Linked DNA regions of Homo sapiens: region 2 is linked to region 1. Evidence: promoter capture Hi-C in human tissues and cell types (Jung and others, 2019). All regions are on one chromosome and are shown on one strand. Each heading gives the region's core, a stretch centred on a gene start or on the middle of the fragment in contact. The rest is flanking DNA. Distances are from core to core; before and after follow the strand shown.

What was found. The method cuts DNA at HindIII sites, captures the fragments that hold promoters and counts their contacts. A contact is called where the count stands out against the background at its distance.
Region 2: a contact is called between a fragment that was not itself captured here and the fragment with the promoter of GUCY1A2 in region 1, in 2 of the 25 tissues and cell types used here (H1 embryonic stem cells and pancreas).

Annotation. Positions count from the first base shown.
Region 1 is chr11:107,014,666-107,020,996 of GRCh38, forward strand. GUCY1A2 (guanylate cyclase 1 soluble subunit alpha 2) reads right to left here and starts at 3,811. Exons shown (of 8, transcript NM_000855.3): 1 at 3,088-3,811. The coding sequence starts at 3,390. RefSeq lists a silencer at 3,205-3,334. The HindIII fragment of the contact is 5,267 bases long and covers 413-5,679 here.
Region 2 is chr11:106,927,989-106,933,926 of GRCh38, forward strand. All of the region lies in intron 4 of GUCY1A2 (guanylate cyclase 1 soluble subunit alpha 2), which reads right to left. Among named protein-coding and RNA genes, the nearest start is that of GUCY1A2, 88 kb to the right of the region's middle. The HindIII fragment of the contact is 5,903 bases long and covers 1-4,912 here.

The sequences.
Region 1 (6,331 bases), core at 2,561-5,060:
ATAACTAGTTTAATAAATAAATTTTCATTTTTCTATTTGCAAATCATTCTGAATAAAGAAGAAATCCCAAGTGACTGAGACATGCCACGATGAGACAACTGACAAAACAGGAGCTTCCATGGCAAGTACAGTTTCTCCTGAAGTATATTGTGATGGCATGCAAGAAAGCTCACAACATTCAAAACAACTAGAAATTCCCATCTAAAAAGGCTCTGGTAATGGCTACTCTCAGTGGTTCAAAAACAAAAAAATGTCCAGCTTTCATGAGAGAATAGAGAGGACATAATCCATCTCCTGAAGAGTATTCAAAGAAGTTTCAAATCCTGACAATGTCAAAAAATGAATCTACTGGAACTTTTTGAGCTAGTGTTCTAACTTGCCAAATAAAATAAGGTAAGGACTGCCCAGAAATGAGTCACTGCTTTGAAATATAATCTCTCTCTTTTATTTGTGTCACTAAGTCTATTGATGATATGGTTAACCAAGGAGAATTTTTCTATACATGTGTTATGTTGAAAATGTTTACAGTATATTCACCTGTATGTTCTCAGCGTCCACCTGACAGACCCTTTTCATAATAGAAAACAACTATGGCATGGAAAGTATATAGAGCTGTTGCATTTATTTGATCATCACAATTATTTTTAAATTGCTTATTCTGAAAACCATTCTCTGGATACATTCTTTTCATCCAGCAAAAAGCCAGTCATTCAAATTTAACTTATAAAAGTAACCATCAGAGACTATTTCCTTCCTCTTATTCTAGCAGAAAATACTGCATTTCTCAGTTTCTTTTATCTACTCCTCATGTAAGTTGTTGAAAATAGTCTTAGCTTAAATTAGCATTATCAGAGGCATTGACATTACTTTTTAGAAATCTGTAAATTCTCTTAGGCAAAAAAAAAAAAAAAAAAAAAAAAAAAAAAAAAAAAACCTCCAAGGTTATATCAACAATTCTCCCCAAACTAATCATTATCTTTAGCAAAATCATTTCATTAAATAAGAATCTGTTGTACTAAATAACTATTTTATTGCACAAATGTTGCTTTAAGTACTGACACAAGCCTACAGACGCTCGGGGTCATTGGACTCCTGTTGTAAATAAATATTTTCAACAATTTGCAACATCAAATAGTTTATAAAATTACGCTGCCTGGGAAATATTGGCAGGGAAGAACAGCAAAGAGTAGCCAATCTATTCTGAGGATTGTTTTCTAGGTTAATGATGAAAGAAAAAGTGGCAGAAAGATATATCAAATACGAAAATACACAAGAATAGGAAGATGACTGTTTCTCAATATGTGTTCCTAAGAATTAAATTAGTTCAAAATAAATAATGTAATAAGTGATTTATACATCTTCAATCAGGTCTCGTAAAAGAAAAAAATCATTCTCCATTAATACAAGTGCCACAAGAATATTTGTAGACCTGTCTGGTACCCGTACTCAGTCCCCTCAGGGTTCCACTCCTTCTTAGGTCCCCCCTACCATCATTTGCAGTAGTAATCTCAAAAGAGAGACTCAACAGTAATCAAACAAGATCAGTGTTCAGATTCATTTCGGAAACTTTAAAAAAGTAAAAGTCCTAGGGGTGGGCAGGTGAAAGTGCTGTCAGGAGGAGCTAAAGCTCTTGTATCCAAGGTCAGGGTGAGCATAAAAGATGGGTGGAGGTTTGACGCTGAATCTTTTTCAAATTCTGTCTGCAACAGAGTGGATTTCTTTAAAACAGAGCTCTCCCAGACACGGTAAGATTGGATCAGAGGTCTGGCATTCCTGCAAGAGGTAAAAGCCAAGGGTAGCTGAAATGCCTGGGCAGGAATAAGGCAGTACTCCTCTGGAAGGATGCCTACAACCAGGGGGAGTTTGTTGTACACCTGAAACTGCTGATACAGACATCCCAAGATGACCACAAGTTTGGAGAGGCATTTATTCATTCCACAAATATTTAGGAAGGGCCTAATATAAAGAAGCCACCAAAAAATGAGAGAGAAAGCACTAGAGAATCAATTGAAGAGAGAGTAAAGGATGAGGTGCAGGTGCAAGAAGTACAGAGCGGTTTAAATAGCTAATGTGAGAGAGAAAGCACTAGAGAATCCATTGAGGAGAGAGTAAAGGATGAGGTACAGGTGCAAGAAGTACAGAGAGGTTTAAATAGCTAATGTGAGAGAGAAAGCACTAGAGAATCCATTGAGGAGAGAGTAAAGGATGAGGTACAGGTGCAAGAAGTACAGAGCGGTTTAAATAGCTAATGCATGCGAAGCTTAATACCTAGGTGATGAGTTAGTAGGTGCAGCAAACCACCATGGCACACGTTTGGTACCTATGTAACAAATCTGCACATCCTGCACATGTAACCCGGGACTTTAAATTAAATTTAATTTAAAAAAAAAGAAATCCAGACACCAGGTTTACCCAGAGAAGAATAAATGCCTAGTGGATAAGAAAGAAAAAGAAAAAAAGCTACGGGGTGAGGACAACTCGAGATTAGAGATTACTTGAACAGAAGGCAACTCAGAAAAGTATCTGGCAAAAAGTATCTGAAGATGTGAGAAAAAGGATGCAACATAGAATGCAGATAGCCTGTGGAATTCAAAGATGTCAGAGAAGGTCACGCTAAGACCAAGAGAGTGTGGGAAATAAGGAGAGGAAGGGTTTCCTGGAAGGGGTTGGGGCTCCTTTGGGATGCTGGAGAACAGGATGAAAGACAGGGAAGCTGAACTGCAGAACACAGTGCCTGGGAAAGTTTAGGGGAAAGAAAACAGGTGGGTGTGAAGCAGCACTGGGGCTGTCCAGGGGGAACAGTGGTGAAGTAGGGTTCAAGGCTAGAGGTGGGCAGACAGGCCCCCGAATCAGGATACCCCAAAGGAGTGGAATCTTATTCCTTCCCAGTGCTGTAGTCCCCTCTTCCGCCCTAGCCTAGGGGATCCTCTGTCGCCGGAGCCACTGGAACCCTAGGCCGTGCAGGGTAAGGCCGGGCCGCCCCCCAGCGGTCGGGCTCTGCGCTCGCGCCCCGGCTCGCCCAGCGCCAACTTTACAGATCCGCGTTCTCTCCCCCGAAGGCGGTCCCCCCTTCCGCCCCCCGCTCACCGAGGGCGCCGTCAGGCGGCTGATGCTCTCGCCCAGCGAGTCCAGGTTGACCCGCCTCCGGCGCTGCACCCTCCTGGCCCCGGCAGTGGCAGCGGCGGCGGCGGCAGAAGCAGCCGGGGTCGGGGCCGGGGCGGCGGCAGCGGCAGCTGCGGCCGGGCTGGGCTCCAGCGGCCCGGGCGGGCTCCGGCTGCCATTCCAGCAGAGCCTAGACAGGGGGCACTCCCCCTCCTCCTCCGGGCTGGTCTCCAGGTAGTCGGAGCCCAGGGAGCTGAAGGACTCGGACGAAATCTTCCTTCGAGACATGCTGCCGGCGGAGCTGCAGCGGCCGAGGCGGTGGCGGCGAGGACGCGAGCGGCGGCGGAGGCGGCGGTGGCGGGACCGGCAAGCGACAACGTTAAGCGCGTCGGGGCCGCGGGGCGCTGCGGTCGCGCCCGGCGGGGCGGGAGTCCCCGGGGCCGCGGAGCCCCCCGAGCCGGCTGCTCATGGCGGGAACTTGGGGCGCCGCCGCACCTTGGGGCCCGGGCTCGGCGGCGGCGCCGGGCTGGGCTGGGGGCCGCCGCCGCCTCTGCTGCTGCTCGCGCGGCGCCGCCTCAGCGCCCGCCTCGGCGCATCGCCGTGCGCCGCGCTCCCGCTCACGGGGAGGCTCCGAGAGTGTGTGACCGCGGTCGGCGGGGCGGGGAGGGCTGCGGCCCAAGCAGAAGGGGAGGCAGAGGCAGAGGCTTCTGCCGCCTGCGCGCCTATCTCGCCCCCTTTCCCTCTCTGCTCCCGCCTCTCTCCACTTGCTGCCCTGCCTCCCTCCTTCTCCCTTTATCCCCCCGCCCCCCCCCATGCTCTCCCTCCGCGGGAATCACGTGTCGCCATCATACTCATTGGGAGTCTCTGCCTCGCCTGTCGCCACGTTTCAGGAGCAACGAGGACACTTCGTTGCTGTCCTCTGCGCGCCCTCCCTGCTCCGAGGAGGTGCGCACAGGAGCTCGGGTCGGACTGAGGGCCCCAACCCCAAACGCCTTATCCTCGGCCCTCGGGAGCAGATGGGTCCCGGCGGCGCTGGTGGGGAGAAGGGCTCGGGGCTGGGGGGCGAGAGGCCTCCCCCTGGAGCCACCTTGGGGAAACCTGACAGTGTGAAGTGGGGGTTAGGGTCCATGTTGTCCTTTCTCCGAGTTTATTTAGGAAGTTCCGAGGCAAAAGGGAAAGGCCAAGCGTCCAGCCAGCCCACTCCAGAGGAGACGCTTTCAGGGGAAGGGAAGGACAGGGGCAACATTTTGGCGCCCATCCTGCTGGAGCAGCTCCTGGGGACTTGTGTTCCCCGCCTCGTGCGAGGCCGTGTGGGCGCGGAGCGAGCCCAGAAAGGGGCGGCAGTGAGGACAGCGTCTGCTCTGACAAGACAGCACTGTTGCTGAGCCTCAGCCGGGCGGGGTGCGCGGGGCTCCCGGCTCCGCTGGCTCCTCACTAGTGCTGGACAGCTCCGCTTGCCACCTATAGCCGCCTTTGCAGGCGTTGAGAACTGGAGAACAGTTCCTCCTCAAACGACCTAGCACCTGGCCCGGGGGAAACCGGGGAATGATCCCACGTCCCTCATCCTCAGGGCTCTTTGCGCCAAATATGCGATCTGTTTGCACCTGACTGCAAATGCTGCTCAGAAAGCTAAGGGGAGTAGGGATAAATGCTTCTCGAACTGACTCGCCACAGCGCGAGCATGTCTTGCCGCGAGTTTTCAGCTGTGCGGCTTCATTCCAAAGCTTATCTCTTTGCAAACCAGTCCTTCCAGCGCCTGACCCCACTGCCCCTTGCCTTAGCCCCAGAAAACTCTCATACTGGTTCTGAGGATAGAGTAAGAGATGGGAAGAAGGGGCAAATGACAGTATCCCGAAAGGGGTTCCAGGCTGTACTTCCCCCTGCAATGAAGTGGATGAGCACCCTCCCCAGCTCACCCGATCTGCGGAGAGAAAAGTTTAGGGGCTCTGGCTTTAGTTTCCCAGTGAAACCGAAGCCAAAGCGTTTTTTTAATTAAAGAACTGGTCCTTCCAGGTGAAGGCAGATGGGTTTTTGTGGACTGTGTTTATTTAAAAAGCAAAACAAAACCAAACCACAAAACCTGTGCTGTACCCCCACCACAATTTGCTTTTAACTTCAAATCTTCCCAAGTGTTTGTTAGGGCTTAAATATAAATGCTATTTGAGGTTTCATTTGGAAAAATCCACTCAAACTGGTTCAGAGACATACCTTTTTCCCCAGATCTTAAATGGGCTTTAAAGATAGAAAAGTGTGTACTATCACTCAGACACTCCCCCTTCAAATTATATATATATATATATATATATATATATGTGTGTGTATATATATGTATATGTATATACATATACATATGAGAAAGAATATATATAATATATATTCTTATATATATGTATTCTTTCTCATCCTGAGGAAGTTTCTTTTAAAATAATAATTGTTACAATTATTATTTAAACTGTTGTGCATCTACTATTGATTTCCCCATTACTTCAATTAATTCTATGTGCATTTGTGTCCATTGAAAATTAGACTCAAATTACACTTTTAATCATAAAAAATCATCAGTTTTGCTAAAAAAGTTTCACTAGCCCCTTTTTCTAAATTATAATGAAAATTACATTATTCTAACTTTGGGGTAATTGTTTAATATTTCTGCTACACAGTATCAATCAGCATAAAGGATTGGAGTTCCTAGTTCTCTTCTTTGGTACTGATTATATAATAGTCAAGTTCTTTCGAATTATAGGATTTTAGTTAGTATTAAATATACTAAATAGCATGTGTCCTTCACATTCTTTCAATAAACTGCTGCGCACACAAATAAATATTATGGTAACGGCAAATAAACTTCATATTGAACTTAGAATTGGAACTTTTTATTAACCATTCCAACTCTTGTCTCAAAGTCAAAATTATTGAGTGCAAGGCAATGAGTATCATTTGTTTCTAAAATTTGTAAGAGGCCCAAGAGCCTTCCTGTTTACACTGGAAGTTTATTGCCAGAAAGAACTCTGAACCTATGGGACATTTTTTCTTTGTGTGAACCATTTGAATCAAAGACTCTTTACAGAATCTAGCCAGATGAAGTCGTCTTACAATTTTCTCTATGAATTACACCCTGCCTTTGATCATTATTTTCCCATGGATTTTTAAACTATAAACAAATCAAGGCCTAGATATAGCCAGTACAACATCTGCTTTGCTTTCAAGGGTTTCCTTTGTATTTCTGTTC
Region 2 (5,938 bases), core at 711-3,210, 89 kb before region 1:
AATGTATCAGAGTAGCACAAAATTCTTTTACTGTAGGATGTTAAGAATTTCTAACTCCTGTTTATGGCAATTCTATTGTTAGATCTACACCTACCTTATTCATAGTAACATCTAAATTAGAAAAATATGAAAATGCAAGCTGCCATAAATCATAGTATGAGTTCTCCATATATGTTCACAGAGAGAAAGAGATTCCCTCACACCTCTTCTACAGTGGATGGAAGGATTTCTGAAGCTGGTGTTCAATGGCCAAAAAAGAGTCACTGCTTCACTCAAAATTTTGAGACATGTAAGCTTGAAATCTCAATCCTTTGAAGAACCTACACATGTTATTACAAGCATTTTTAACATCAGCCAACAACAACTTCACAGATGAGTCTGTGCTGACAAGAAATATAATTCTTGACCTCTCCTTCAAAAAGCAAGAGTTTTGGAATCAACTTCCACTGCTTGTCACCTACAATATGCTCAGATTTTTGACCCCCCTGTATCTCCAAGGAAAAAAAAAAAACCACCATGTCTTCATTAGGAAAAACGGAAAACGAACCAAGATTATTGTATGATTCAAACATAAATACAGTCATGAATCACTTAACAACAAGAGAAATACATCTCAGAAGCACACTGTTGGGCAATTTCACCATTATATGAACAACAGGGTATACTTACACAAACCTAGAGGCATAGCCTACAATGCACATAGGCTAAATGGTAGAGCTTATTGCTCCTAGGCTGCAAATCTATACAGTATGTGACTATCCTGAATACTGTAAGAACTGGAACACAATGGTATTTTTGTGTCTAAACATTGAAAAGGTATGATAAAATACGGCTTTACAATCCTATGGGACCACTGTCATATATGCAGTCAATCTGACTAAACCATCAATGTGTAGTGTATGACTGTACTTGGATTTTGATTATTTTCAGAAAAATAAAATGTGGTAAACTGTACTCATTTCTTCACAGAATAAGGAAATGCTGTTAAACAGAATGAAGGGTTCTGAATCATGTTATAAGTACAATAGAAACTGATCTCTCTAATAAGTGATCATAATCTTTAGCCACCAGTATAATAGAAATGTGTAAACTAGCTTTGTCTAACAACTAAATAAACTGAAATAAAACTTGTTAATAACTCATAGCCTAATTACTTGTTTACTATTTTAGCATTTCTTAAAGGTTCAATTTCATGGAGGCTGAAAAATGTAAATAAGTGGCTTTCTTATAAAGCACTCTTACAAGTATAAAATGTTTTAAAGGCAGCTTTTATTATTCATCATAGATCATAGAAATCAAGTTTTCATTGCATTTTGAGGAGCAGAAATTGTCTACTAAACTTGGAATCCAAATACAGGCAGCATTTTAAACATACTTTATTGAGTTGAATTTTAAAAGCCACTATGTACTAAGCTTTGAAAGAAGAAGAATTGCTAAATAGTCAAAGCTTTTCTAAATCTCTCTACTCCACCAATTCATTACTTTTTAAGGTTAAACCATATCTGCTATGAAAAGAAAACAGAATCAAAGTTTTTTTTCACAATAGCACAAAATGTTTATAATATGGATACTCTCCCTATTCCTGAAACTAGCATTACAAAAATAACGTGATCATATTATTTACCTTTAAAGTTTGGGTTCCCTTTATGAATCTTCAGTAAAATATCCCTGAGTGACTGTCATTCATTTTCTTTATGAACTCTCAAGTATTATATAGACCTTTATTTCACTAGGCAACTCCCTCCATTTTTAATGTCTCCAGTTGTTGGAAAGTTCCTCTTAATTCTTAACCAAATCTACTTTCTTATAACATCTATTCTTTGACACTGGTTTTGCCTTCTGAAACAAAAACTTTATCTAATTTTTATATGATAACTATTTAAATATTTGAAAGCAGCTTTCACTCCTTTCTTATAACATTTTCATGGAAGACACTTAAAACAGTGCCAGAAATGTTAAGATACATAGATACAGATAAATACTAATGGATAGACAGATATGCCTTTTAAATATTAATATTTTGGCATTTTTCTCTAAGAATAATGATACTAAAATTTAACAAAAGGAGTAAGGCTTAGTCAAAACTAAGGATTAAAAATGAGAAAAACAACTAAGGGAATGTTTAAATATGTCTTCAGTGATAAAACTGAAACAAGTAGTAAACATATTTGTGGAAGTCAGGAGAATGTGGTAGTTATTTTAAAAAGAAATGGGAACAAACAAGAGAGGCCCACTGACTATGAGGTTGGCAATGAAAACAAGCTTCAAAAAGTTAACTTGCTCAAGGTTACCCAGCTAGTAAATAACAGTCTGAAGTTGGGAAGTCCTGCTACAGAGACTGCATTCTTTTTTTTGAGACAGAGTCTCGCTCTGTCAACCAGGCTGGAGTGCAGTGGTGCGATCCTGGCTCATTGCAACCTCTGCCTCCCGGCTTCAAGCCATTCTACAGAGACTGTATTCTTAATCATACACAATACTGTCTCTCAATACTGCTTTTTTTCTGTGCTTGCTCAAGGATGATGCCCTATCAAAGCATATGTAAAGCTAATTGTTTCTATCAGAATTATAATAATTAGAAATTACCATAAAACCCAATTGCAAAAAGAAAGATGCTGTAGCTTAAGTCATGATTCAAAAGTTGCTATAGGAAAAAATACTAAGTTGATGTCTAAGTTCTGGAACTCAATTATACCAAATCTCAAAATCCTTGAAAAGTAAAACTGTAACAAAATAATAAGAAAAGAAACCTAGTGTGTTATGTTGCCATGCCTTTGATATCTTTTCCTGTTTTGAAAGTACTTCGGGGCTGGACACAGCGACCCATGCCTGTAAATCCCAGCACTTTGGCAAGCCAAGGCAGGCGGATCACGAGGTCAAGAGTTCGAGACCAGCATATGGCCACACAGAATATATCCAGAGGAAAACTGTTATTTCAACCTAAGATATCAATAGAAAGGATAAAGTCAAGTGCAACTGAAGGAGATACTGAAATATGTAAACAGTGTTGACCGATAAAGCCCAGACTTACATTTCTATGAATGAAACTTTCTGAACAGAAGTTTCTCCATAAATATTTTTAAAGGACAGTAAATTGAAGATTATAAAAGACAACTGCATAGGAAGTACCTTTTAAAGACAATATCATATCTAGAATGTATATTTTTAATACAATTTATTAATAGGAAAGCAAACAACAATTAAGTATGGACAAAATATTTGCCTACATATTTAACTAAAGAAATTACACCAATGACTAAAAAGTATAAGAAAAGATGTTTACCATCTTTAGTCATCAGGGAAGTATAACTTAAAACCTAAGACACCACTTTGCACTCATTAGGAAGGCTATGATGAAAAAGACCGACAATACCAGGTGTGAGTGTAAAAGCTGAACCTTCTTACGCTGCCAGTCAAATGGGAAATGGCATAAGCTCTTTGAAAAACAGTTCAGCAACTTCTTTAAAAATTAAACATGTACTTACTATATGATGCAACAACTGCAAATCAGTTCAAGAGAAATGGGAACATATCCACACAAACTCTTGTATGTGAATGTTCATTGCAACATTATTCATAATAGCCAAAATCTGGAAAATCAATGTCCATCAACTGGTGAATGGATAAACAAACCGTGTGGTATCTATGCAATAGAATACTGTTCATCAGGAAAAATTAACAATCTGCTGATGCATACTACACTACAGATAAGCTCAAAAACATGATGGCAAACCAAAAGAAAAAGAAAGATAACTAATTGTATGATGACATTTGTAAGAAATGAGTAGAAGAAGCAAATCTATAGAGATGAAAGTAGGCCAGTGGTTGGCTGCAGTTGGAGGTAGGAGCAGGAATTAACTGCAAATGGGTAAACTTTTGGGGGTGATAAAGTTTTCTAAAACCAAATTGTTGTCGTAGATGCACTATTATATTCATTTACTAAAAATTATTGCACTGTATACTTACCAAAAAAGTACACAAGAACAAACAGGAAACTATCAAAAAATGAAGAGGTAGACAACACATTGAAAACATGTATTTTTTTTTCACTGAGACTTAAAGCTACTGGCTAAAATGATTCTAACTTAAAAACAAAAGGAACAGTTAAAGGAAGATTCTGTATGATTTTTAACTAAAGGGATTGATTTTTATCCCTGAGAACCTACAAACCTTTAATAGAACTAAATAAAAATCTGATCTCCAATAGGAGGTACCTCCTGTTATGCTCAGGGCTACAATATTTCTTGTTAACAAAAATTAAATATGGCAAAATAAGCACTTTAAGCCTATAGATGACTATTGGGAATACATAATTCATCATGTAATCATGTACAGTGTCCTCTTACTATACACAATAAAGTAACTATACAGGAACAATGCCATTAAGCCTCCTGTGTGGTTCATTTAAAAAAAATACCATACAGCAATTTTAACCTTATACTAATTTTTAAAAACCCAGAACCAGCATGAACATCACTAATATCTGCATCAAAATATCATACATGAGCCTTGTCGCTCATAGTTTAGAAGAGTCAGTATCATTAAAATGGCCATACTGCCCAAAGTAATCTACAGATTCAATGCTATTCCTATCAAGATACCATCATTATTTTTCACAGAACTGGAAAAAACTATTCTAAAGTTCATATGGAACCAAAAAAAGAGCCCAAATAACCAAAGCAATCCTAAGCAAAAAGAACAAAGCCAGAGGCATCACATTACCTGACTTCAAACTATACTATAAGGTTACAATAACCAAAATAGCTTGGTATTATTACAGAAACAGACACATAAACCAGTGGAACAGAATAGAAAACCCAGAAATAAAGCTACACACAGCCATCTGATCTTCAGCAAAGTTGACAAAAATAAGCAATAGGGAAAGGACTCCCTATTCAATAAATGGTGCTGGGATAGCTGGCTAGCTGTATGCAGGTGAATGAAATGGGACCCCTGCCTTTTACCATATACAAAAATGAACTCAAGATGGATTAAATATTTAAATGTAAGACCTCGAACAGTAAGAATCCTAGAAGAAAACCTAGGAAACACCATTCTGGACACTGGCCTTGGGAAAGAATTTGTTACTAAGTCCCAAAAGCAACAAAACAAAACAAAAATTGACAAGTGGGACCTAATTAAACTAAAGAGCTTCTGAAAAGCAAAGTAAATGAACAGAGTAAACAACCTAAAAAATGGGAGAAAATATTCATAAACTATGCATCTAACAAAGGTCTAATAACCAAAATCTATAAGGAAGTTAAGCAAACAAAAAATAACACCATTAAAAATAGGCAAAATACATGAACAGACATTTCTCAAAATAAAACATAAAAACAGCCACCAAACATATAAAAAAATACTCAACATCACTAAATATCAGAAAAATGCAAATCAAACCCACAATGAGATACCATCTCACACCAGGCAGAATGGGTATTATTAATAAGTCAAAAGCAACAGATGCTGGCAAGGCTGTGGAGAAAAGGGAACACTTATACGTTGTTGGTGGGACTATAAATTAGTTCAGCGTTTGTGAAAAACAGTTTGGAGATTTCTCAAAGAAGTTAAAAAGAGCTACCATTTGACCTAGCAATTGCATTACTGGTTATATATCCAAAAGAAAATAAATCATTCTACTCAAAAGACACTGCACTCATATGATTATTGCAGCACTATTCACAATAGCGAAGACAGGGAATCAACCCAGGTGCCCATCAGTGGTGGATTGGATAAAGACAATGTAGTACATATATATCATGGAATATTGTGCAACCATTAAAAAGAACACATAGCTGGATGCAGCTATGCAGCCATAAAAAAAGATGCAGCTTGAGGCCACCATTCTAAGCAAACAAACACAGGAACGGAAAACCAAATACCGCATGTTCTCACTTAAAAGTGGGAGCTAAACATTGGTGCTCATGGACATAAAGATGGC